Regions from separate parts of the Homo sapiens genome. Here region 1 is linked to region 2. The links are contacts of gene promoters, found by promoter capture Hi-C in blood cells and fetal thymus (Javierre and others, 2016). All regions are on one chromosome and are shown on one strand. Each heading gives the region's core, a stretch centred on a gene start or on the middle of the fragment in contact. The rest is flanking DNA. Distances are from core to core; before and after follow the strand shown.

The links. The method cuts DNA at HindIII sites, captures the fragments that hold promoters and counts their contacts. A CHiCAGO score of 5 or more calls a contact.
Region 1: a fragment that was not itself captured here is called in contact with the fragment with the promoter of PPP6C in region 2 in 1 of 17 cell types (fetal thymus); the score reaches 6.7 in fetal thymus.

What each region holds. Positions count from the first base shown.
Region 1 is chr9:124,656,028-124,661,098 of GRCh38, reverse strand. All of the region lies in intron 2 of NR6A1 (nuclear receptor subfamily 6 group A member 1), which reads left to right. MIR181A2HG (MIR181A2 host gene) reads right to left here and starts at 2,663. Exons shown (of 2, transcript NR_038975.1): 1 at 2,358-2,663. RefSeq lists enhancers at 1,626-1,675, 2,497-2,616. The HindIII fragment of the contact is 181 bases long and covers 3,100-3,280 here.
Region 2 is chr9:125,187,391-125,193,050 of GRCh38, reverse strand. It overlaps PPP6C (protein phosphatase 6 catalytic subunit), which reads left to right and starts at 3,248. Exons shown (of 7, transcript NM_002721.5): 1 at 3,248-3,407. The coding sequence starts at 3,333. RefSeq lists enhancers at 2,971-3,050, 2,353-3,139, 3,140-3,926. The HindIII fragment of the contact is 2,825 bases long and covers 2,598-5,422 here.

The DNA.
Region 1 (5,071 bases), core at 1,941-4,440, 530 kb after region 2:
GTATAATGCTAGCCTCTAAATTGGTATATATATTCTAAAGAAACTTTTGATGGAATTAAATAATAGATTTTATGTGATATTTTGGAGAGAAATTAATGTCCCTCGAGTTTTGATGTATTTAATTATTTTCTTTTGGAATTTTAAAAAGATACTAATTTTATTACATGTCACTTGTGTTACTAAGCGTATTTTTTTCCTGACATTTTATTTATAAAATGCTCTCCTTTCTACCAGAGTGTACAGCTAATCAACTCTGGATGCTTTTGATATTTCTTACTGTGCCAAGGGCATTGAATGAAGTTCCCTGTAGTGAGAAAAGCGAGCACATGGGACTCGTGACTTTATGTACTCCAACAATAGAGCTTTTATGACATTGGAGGTGGTTAAAAAAGCTAGAAGTAGCTCTTAAACATGGCATCTCTGTGTTGCCTTTTTTTTTTTTTTTTTTTTGTATTCTCAGAGCTGCCAGGAGTGCATCGAGCCTGTAATTTCCTGTTCTCTGAATCCCCCATCTTTCTGCAGCTCCAAGCTTTGTGTCCCACAGCCTGTGACTCTGTGCTAACAAATCGCTATTGTCCAGTGGGGCGAATGGTGGCTGGAACTAAAGAATTGCTGTCTGGTTTCTATTCAAATCCAGGTAGCGAGATATATGAATGGACTTTTCGAATCGTCATGTGAATAACGTCTGCTCGGCATGAAGGCTCAGAGCCATGCTAGGAAGGATTAACTCGTAGGCTGACCACTAACATCCTTTGTGGTACGAGGGAGAAACATTCCCAAGTATCATTTTATTCACACTTAATTTTCTATCCCATACCCCCAAAATAAGGCTAGCTATTTAATTAGTTGGCTGCTTTTCTCTTAATTTTTAGTGTTTCTGTTGATAATGTGTAAGTTTGGGAAAATGCTAAGTAGCTTTTCACTTAGAACACTGTTATTTTCTCTTTAAAGTTTTCTACCTTACATTTATTATAGCATAGTTATCTTTATAGCATAGATGCAGAAAGTAAGAGAGAGCTTGTTTTTTCAAGAAAACAACCCTTTAAAATACTTTCCAACCCATGAAGGGAAAAATCCTCCTTTTTTCCCCCAAGTGCATTCTACTTATTACTTTGCATTTTTCTCCCAAAGTCCAAATTTATGCAAAGAAAATAGAAACAAGTTCAAATGCAATGCATTAACCAAATAAAACAAGTCTGCTTCAAATTAGGAACCAACCTAAGCATTTGTAAAGTGTAGCAGAATCAGAATTCTTTTAAAAATTAGATTTGGAACCTGAACTATATAATTCATAATTCTCATTTTTCTGTGGAAAATTATTTTATCTTTCTCCTGTATACCTGAAAAAATGTCCATAGGCTTAAAGGGTCATGCTTTTACATTCCTTCCATATCACAGGTACTATGAAGTAAGGAGACTTTTAGGTTTCTTTTTGTCTTAAACTCAGACAGCTTTGTAAGCAGTAGTGTGTAGATTACAAGAGTTAGACAAAAGCAGGCGCGACTGAGAAGAGTTGGTGGGGGAGAAGCTTGGGGCACTTCCTGTCACTCAACACATTCCAGATCACTAAAAAATTTCCACACCCTCTGCATTCCCCCTTGCCCACTCCAGTTCCCGGTATTTTCTGATTCCATATGTTGTGGTATTTACCATACTTCTCTCCCTCACTAGGCTCTGGCAAGACTGCTTCAGAGGGGATGCATTCCTTTAGATTGCACAAAGCGGAGCTGGGAAAATGGCTGGCAGTTTCAGAATCTAGTCACGATCGCACGCATGAGCACCTCACACATCCATGTCCCTACCCGCCCCCCCGCTCCCGCCCCTGCAGCTGGCTGACCTGTCTCACCCACTGCTGGCCTATCGAACGGCCAGGACTGTCTGGTTTTGGCTCGTGCCTTTGTCCATGTCTGGCTTAGTTCCTCTCTGTCTATGCTTGCCTCTACCCCCACCGCCCCAGGCGGCACAAGTGTTTGGCCACACAAAACTAGAGATAGAAAAGGTGGTAAAAACTTCAAACTTTTCTAAATTCTCCAACAGTTTATTTCTTGTGAATTTCTTCCTTCTTTAAATACTCCATTTTAAGAAAACAAAAAAATTAATTATCTAAAGGCAAAGAATGGAAAGCAACCTTTGTGTTCCTTATAATAACTGACTTCATAACTCTCTCCAGCTGCGTTATGGGATGTGTATAAAAAGCTTCTGTTCTGAGAACAAAGGAGCACGTGCAGAAATGAGACGAAAAAATCCACTGACAGTATTCCATTACACAAATTACTTAAAAGATTTTAGTCAAGCCCCTCAACAGATTCAATTTTAAAATGGCTTTTAGTTAAAAAAAAAAAATTGAAAGTGCTTACCCAGTAAAAGAACCGAAGTAGTCCTGAACTGTTACGTAAGACTTTTTACAGTTGGATCTTTGTCAAAAGGGGATGGGGGTGATGGGAGAAAGCAGCAACGACAATCAAAAAAGTTCGAGCTGCTGTGGCTAGAGGACAACTTCTGTGTTTCCAGATAGGATTCTTGCTGTAGAAATGGAACTTCCAGCCAGCACAGCATCCTGTCCCAGTAGAGAAATGAGTTTGTCAGTTAAAACAAAAAAAAAATTAGATACTGGAACCCAGGCTAGACGAGGTATTGAACCGCGCCAGATTTCCTTGCAGCCCTGTCTGCTCAGCTCGCATTGAACTATATATGACCCAGATGATGGACAGAAGCACATTTAGTCATGTGCACACTGGAAGAAAGCGGATTTGCTGGTCCCTGGCAGTGCAGGGGTTTGTCTTCTGATTGGGCTGTGCCCTGATCGGTGAAATGTGAAGCCCTCACCATTCAGAGGCCGTAATTCAGGACTGGCAGTTTGAGTGTCTGGCTGCCTCTAGTCACTGAGAGACTTTGAAGGTGTTGCTTTTGTTTGGTGGCATTACCCACCCAGAGGTTGCTTACACCTCTCTACTTGTGTCAGAAGAAATACTAGTCTTTCTGAAATACAAATAGGCAGCCGATTTTTCCTGAATCCTAAATCACCCTATTGTTGATAAACTTGGCTCTAACTGAAACCAATTATTTGATTTGAAAATTTATTGTGATCCTAACCAAGCTTCATATCCAGACCAACCCTTGGTCTTGATTTTATAGGTTTGATAAGGTAAAAATAAAAGTGGCATATTTGACTTTGAAGCCTCTATATGATATAAATTGCTCTTAATGAAAATTGGATAGATGGACAACAGAGAAGTGAAGTTTTAGATTCTGGAGTGTTTGGATGTATGAGGAAGAAGCTTTATGTCTTTTTATCCCCTTTGTGAGACTGTCACTCTTGTCCCAGTCCTAGTCACATTAGGGGTTGCTGGGGGGGGGAAGCTATGAAAGCATGGACCCTACTGAGCTGTGACATAGCCTTTAATCATGCAAGACAGCCACGGTCTGCTCTCTTCAGTCTGTCTGAACTAGGGTCCTTGGGGTTTATTTTCCATCTTTCTGAGCCACTGGGAAACCAGGTCATTATACAGGACTGTCATTTGTGACATTTTTGTTTAGTACATGGCAGTTGCTTTGTTTATTTAATGCAAGTTGACACTTCTTTAAAGTTTCAAAACAGTAAAGTTGTTTTGTGAGACCTTGACTCTGATATATGAAATCTACTCTACATGGACCAATCATTTTTTTCCGTGGACTTTCTTGTCTCTTTAGAAATTAGCTTATAGAGTCCTAAATTGATACTTAAACATACCAATAGTTCTGTTTATTTCTTGCCTTTCTCACAGTTGTTGAAATAATTCCATCTGTCTCTTTTGCTGTAAATTTTGGGTTTGGATGTTTGTACTTGGAATTTTTTAGATGTTGACTATATTATGCAGCACCTTCCATATGAGGACTACCCCAGAATTATTCTCTTGTCTTAACCCGAGAAAAGCTGTTTTGATGCACTATTAGATATAAGAATGTTCGAAAGAAGAGGAGATGAGCACTCTCTTGCTTTTTGTAAGCCACAAGACAATCTTTTTTTTTTCTAAGTTGTGGTAAGGTATATGTAACATAAAATTGACTGTTGTAATAATTTTTAAGTGTATAGTTCTGTGGTGTTAAGTGCATTCACGTTGTTTTGCAGCCTTCACCACCATCCATCCACCACAGAACTCTTCTCCTCTTGCAAAACTGAAATTCTCTACCTACCTGTTAAACACTAACTTGCCATTCTTCCCTCCCCCAGGCCCTGGGGACAACCATCATTCTACTTTCTCTTTGATTTTTTGTTTTTTGTTTTTGGAGACGGAATTTTACTCTTGTTGCCCAAGCTGGGATGCAATGGCACTGTCTTGGCTCACTGCAACTTCCGCCTCCTGGGTTCAAGCAATTCTCCTTCCTCAGCCTCCTGAGTAGCTGGGACTACAGGTGCCCACCACCACGCCTGGCTAGTTTTTGTATTTTTAGTAGACACGGGGTTTCACCATGTTGGCCAGGCTGGTCTCGAACTCGTGATCTCAAGTGATCCACCCACCTTGGCCTCCCAAAATCCTAGAATTACAGGCATGAGCCCACCGTGCCTAGCCTCTGTCTGTTTGCTTTTTGACTACTCTAGATACCTCATATAAGTGGAATAATACAAGATGTGTTCCCTTTTGACAGGCTTATTTCACTTAGCATGGTGTCCTCAAGGTTCATGCATGTTGTCGCATGTCAGAATTTCCTTACGTTTTAAGGCTGAATAATATACCATTGCATGTGTATACTACTGTCTTAGTCCCTTTAGTGTTGCTGTAAAGGAATACCTGAGGCTGGGTAATTTATAAAGAAAAGAGGTTTATTTGGCTCATGGTTCTGCAAGCTGTACAAGAAGCATGGCACCAGCTTCTGGTGAGGGCCTCAAGCTGCCTCCATTCATGGCACAAGGTGAAAGGGAGCTGGTGTGTGCAGAGATCACATGGTAGGAGAGGAGGAGGCAAGAGAGAGAAGAAGGAGGTGCCAGACTACTTTAAAACCATCAGCTTTTGCAGGGAGTTATAGAGCCAGCACTCACTGACTACTGCAAGAATGGCACCAAGACATTCATGAGGGATCTGCCTTCATGACC
Region 2 (5,660 bases), core at 1,999-4,498:
CTATGAGGTAAGTAGTATTCTTACAATCTCCAGAGGAGGTAAGCATTATTATTATCTCCATATTGGAGCTGAGAAAACTGGAGTACAGAAAGGATAAATAACTTCTCCAAACCAAAATCACACAATAAGTGGTAGAGCCTGTATTTGAACTCTGCCCACATGGTGCTAGAAGCTACATCCTGTACTTTACCTCCTCTGTGTTATCAACCTAAAGTAGGCCTCTTTTTTTTGAGACGGAGTCTCGCTCTGTTGTCCAGGCTGGAGTGCAGTGGTGCGATCTCGGCTCACTGCAACCTCTGCCTCCCAGGTTCAAGTGATTCTCCTGCTTCAGTCTCCTGAGTAGCTGGGATCACAGGCACGTGCCACCACACCAGGCTAAGTTTTTCTTTTTCTTTCTTTCTTTTTTTCTTTTTCTTTTTTTTAAGACGGAGCCTTGCATTGTCACCCGGGCTGGAGTGCAATGACGCTATCTCAGCTCACTGCAACCGCAACCTCCATCTCCCAGGTTCACGCAATTCTCCTGCCTCAGCCTCCCAAGTAGCTGAGATTACAGGCACACACCACCATACCCGGCTAATTTTTTGTATTTTTAGTAGAGACAGGGTTTCACTATATTGACCAGGCTGGTCTCAAACTCCTGACCTCATGATCCGTCCGCCTCGGCCTCCCAAAGTGCTGGGATTACAGGCGTGTGCCACCATGCTGGGCCCTTTTTTTTCCCCCAAAGGACACAAGTACAGGTAAGAAAATGTAGTTTTTTGTTTTTTTTTTTTTTTTAGACAGGGTCTCACTTTCTCTCCCAGGCTAGAGTGCAGTGGTGGGATCTCAGCTGGTCAGGAACTCCTGACCTCAAAAAGACCTGCCCGCCTCGGTCTCCCAAAATGCTGGGATTACAGGCGTGAGCCACTGTGCCCAGCCAAAGGTAGACCTCGTCTACTCCATTTTTCTTGCTTATAGTACCTCCTATTTTCCCTTTTGAGTACTAATCACAATTTGCAATTAAATATTTGCTCACTGCCAGGTATGGTGGCTTACACGTATAATCCCAGCACTTTGGGAGGCCAAAGCAGCGGAATAGCTTGAGGCCAGGAATTTAAAACCAGCCTCAGCAAGACCTCACCTCAACAATTTTTTTTTTTTTTCTGTTGGCCAGGCTGGAGTGCAGTGGCACGACCTCAGCTCCCTGTAACCCCCACCTCAAAGCAATTTTCATGCCTCAGACTCCGGAGTAGCTGGGATTACAGGCATGTGCTACAATGCCCAGCTAATTTTTGTATTTTTAGTAGAGATCAGGTTTCACCATGTTGGCCAGGATGGTCTTGAATTCCTAGCCTCAAGATATCTGCTCACCTTGGCTTCACTACTGGGATTACAAGTTTGAGCCACTGCACCCGGCCTCAACAAAAACAAAAATTTTAATTACCTCACCCTATGCATCTCTTCATTTGTATCCTTTGTAATATCCTTTATATTAATAATAAACCAGTAAATGTAAATAAATAAATAAATACTGTTTGTCTCTTCCCAGCAGATTGTAAGCCTGATTAGGGCAGGGATCATATCTGTTTTATTCACATCATAAGCACTGTGTAACCTCTGGTTTCTTTTCTCTTTGAGATGGAGTTTCACTCTGTGGCCCAGGCTGGAGTACAGTGGCGCCATCTCAGCTCACTGCAACCTCTGCCTCAAGCAATTCAAGTGATCCTCCTGCCTCAGCCTCCCCAGTATTTTGTATTTTTAGTAGAGATGGGGTTTCGGCATGTTGGCCAGGCTGGTCTTGAACTCCTGACGTCAGGTGATCTGCCTGCCTTGGCCTCCCAAAGTGCTGAGATTACAGGCATTAGCCACCGCGGCCTGGCCAATAGGCACTATGTAACTATTAGTTTAATGAATGAAGAAATGAATGCTTGTGGGCATCATTCATTCTGCAACAAACTTCTAAAAATTAATTTTACTTTGAAACAATTTCATACTTTCAGAGGAGTTACAAGAATAATACAAAGAAGTTCACCCAGATATCTCATTCAGGGTTAGCCAATTGTCCACAAAATATACTTTAGAGAGCAAGAGGATTAATTCCAGGGTCTCTTGAGCAACAAATATTTATTGAGCGCCTGCTACTATTGGATTACATAACAGTCTCTTAACTGGTCTCTTAGCTATAGGCATTGCACCCCCACCCCTAGTCCCATACAGCAGCTCCTTTTACTAATTTATTTTTGAGGAGGATCTCGCTCTGTCGCCCAAGCTGGAGTGCAGTGCCGCGATCTCAGCTCACTGCAACCTCCGCCTCCCAACTCAAGCGGTTCTCCTGCCTCAGCCTCCAGAGTAGCTGGGACCACAAGCACGCACTACCGCGCCAGGCTAATTTTGGTACTTTTTGTAGCTACAGATAGAATAGAGATCTTTGTCTATTTTGTTCACGAAGTACTGCAAGCGCCTTGAGCTGTACCTGGCACATCTTTGTTGCTCAGCAAAGAGTGGTTGGATAAACGAACGCTGAAGGTATGCTAGTACCAGGTACTGTTCTCGGTGCTGGAGTTACAGCAAAAAACTCCCTGCCCTCGTGGGATTCTCACTGGAAGCATGCTTAAGCTTAAGCCATTTTTCAATCTTGACCCCACCATTTTGTTCCCTGTGAGATTTGGGGTGAACTGCAGTTTCCTAGCCTCACTTTCCTATCAATCGTTACGAAGATTAAAAGGAAAAATATCATTTGTATCGCATTTAGCATCAGAAATGCTTTAATAATATTCGTTTCCCTTCCTTTCAGGCTGGAAGACTGGGGCCTGACATCTCTGCCACAGGCTTAGGCGAGGTTTTCACAGGGACTTGGAAAGGTGCAAACGGTTACTACGGCCAGGCTTACCCAATTGTTAAGTGAAGATATTCTGGAGAGTGCTTAAAAGGGTTGGAAAAACAAACCAGTGAGTGGCTAGGACCACCTACTCCGCTGTTTTGCCTCGGAAAAGCCTCGCCGGCTGCCGGGAGGTGAAAGTCTGGAGGAACGGGAGGAAAAGAGAGGGGTGGCTGTCCACAACAGAAAACTACACATCCCAGCACCCCCGCGGCAGACGACTACGGGTCCCAGCAGGTTTCGCGGGGTGGACCGAAGCGGGCTCTCTTGGGGCCTGCAGTCGGGGTTCAGCCAGAGGGGGCGCCGGGCGTACCGACGTAGCGGGGAGAAACGGGTCGCGCTTTAACGGCGCTGCGCAGGCGCCACTCACGGGCCGGACGTGACGCAGGGAAAGTTCCGGCTTCGGCCTCCGCCGCTGCCGCCGCCGCTGCTACAGCCGCCGCCGCCGCTGTTGCCGCGGCTTGTTATTCTTAAAATGGCGCCGCTAGACCTGGACAAGTATGTGGAAATAGCGCGGCTGTGCAAGTACCTGCCAGAGAACGACCTGAAGGTGAGCCCTATTTGCGGGCTCGCCCCTTCCGGCTGTGGGGCGCCCGCCGGCCGGCCCTTCCTTTCTCCAGGACCCCCGCCGGGTATCCAGTCCAGTCGCGGTGGAGGGCCTCCCCCATTGCCAGTCGACCCGGTCCTACCCGGCGTCACGCCGAGGGTCTCGCGAGCCGAGTCGTCGAATGCTGTCCCGGTTGCCTCAGTGGGGATCCCGAGGGATGTCGCGGCCTCTGTCCCAGGGTCGCCCCTTCTGGCCTTCGGGCTGCCCCAGGACCCGCAGCTGTAACAGCTTTATTTAGAAGGCTCGGCTCCCCACCCCATCCCTGGGTCTCCCGCAGTCGGAGCCGAGCCCCCGCGGCAGTGCCCTCGGGATGGGGTCGCCTCCACCGGAGGTGACAGGAGCGCGGAGTGGCCGGCGTCTGACAGGAGATGCCACCGGCTACCGGAACGCGGCCTCAGTGTGTTTAGGTCTCTGAGGAAGGGGAAGGCGGTGGGCCCGAGTGGTTTGGTACTGGCGGGAGCGAACGTCAGGTCGTCCCTCTTCATTGCCACTCCTCCAAATTGCTTTTTAGGATCGTCGGTTTTGCTAATTCAGAGGTGAATCCCGTTTCTGAGTATGTTGTTGAGCTTACTGAAGTGGATAAAGTAGTTGGTTCTCAATAAATACAAATACTTTCTCCTTAACCCCTTCTTAACTCAGTATTTCATTTTCTTCGTTTTCTAAAGGAGGTGAGTTCCTTGTTACTCCTGAGTCCAAGTAAGAGTAAATGTATGTATGGGTAAAGGAATGACTTTGGTATACTGCTTTTCTTTTTTAAAACTTTTTAATTATTATTATTATTATTATTATTATTGTTTTTAACTGAGATAGAGTCTCACTCTGTCACCCAGGCTGGAGTGCAGCGGTGCGATCTTGGCTCACTGCAACCTCCACTTCCCGGGTTCAAGCGATTCTCCTGCCTCAGCCTCCCGACTAGGTGGAATTACAGGCGCCCGTCACGACGCCCGGCTGTTTTGTATTTTTAGTAGAGACGGGGTTTCGCCATGTTGGCCAGGCTGGTCTTGAACTCCTGACCTCAAGTGATCCGCCCGCTTCGGCCTACCAAAGTGCTGGTATTACAGGCGTGAGCCACCGCGCCGGCCTAGGTATACTGCTTCTTTGAAAAGTGTTTCTATGCATTTGCTGAAATCAGAGCTTAGGTTTCTAGCAGTGCTTATCAGCTCGTGCTAGTATTTAACCGACTCAGTGTATTCTTTTTTTTTGAGACGGAGTCTCGCTCTGTCGCCCAGGCCGGAGTGCGGTGGCACCATCTCGGCTCACTGCAACCTCCGCCTCCCGGGTTCACGCCATTCTCCTGCCTCAGTCTCCCGAGTAGCTGGGACTACAGGTGCCCGCCACCACGCCTGGCTAATTTTTTGTATTTTTAGTAGAGACGGGGTTTCACCGTGTTAGCCAGGATGGTCTCGATCTCCTGAACTCGTGATCCGCCCGCCTCGGCCTCCCAAAGTGCTGGGATTACAGGCGTAAGCCACCGTGCCCAGCCCCGACTCAGTGTATTCTTAAGGAAATATATTACTGTGGGTTTTGTTTTATTTCTTCTTTGTACAGTAAGTTGATACTTAACATCAGTCAACAAGTATGCATAATATTTGAGGCCACACGTGCTGTTGTGAATGTGACTGAATTGTACTTACCTGTTAATTTTATGTGGCATATGATAGGGGAGTCATTCTTGTGCATTTTCCCGTTTTTAATAGAATAATTTCAAATAAGGACAGCCTTCGTTAGTAGTAATGTAGCATTTGTGCTCATCTGAGTCCTTCAGACATTCCTTTTGTGGCTTCTTTCTGCTATGTGGTTTTTTTAAGGGAATAAGAATACAACTAGCATTGGGACCCAATTCATGGAAAACTAACCAGACCTCTTAGTAGCATTATTAATCCCATAGGTGAGGTTGACTATTGCATGTCAGTGAATTGACATGGAATTTTTTCTTCTTATTTATCATGCATAAAGCTTTTTTGAACTTTGTGTTTATGATGAATAAAATGTTGCTTTTTATGAAAATGTGTCTAGGGCACAGTGGCGTAATCTCAGTACTTGGGGAGGCTGAGGTGGGCAGATCATTTGAGATCAGGAGTTTGAGACCAGACTGACCGACTTGGTGAAACCCCCTCTCTACTAAAAACACAGAAATTAGCCGAGCATGGTGGTAGGTGCCTGTAATCCCAGTTTACTTACTTGGGAGGCTGAGGC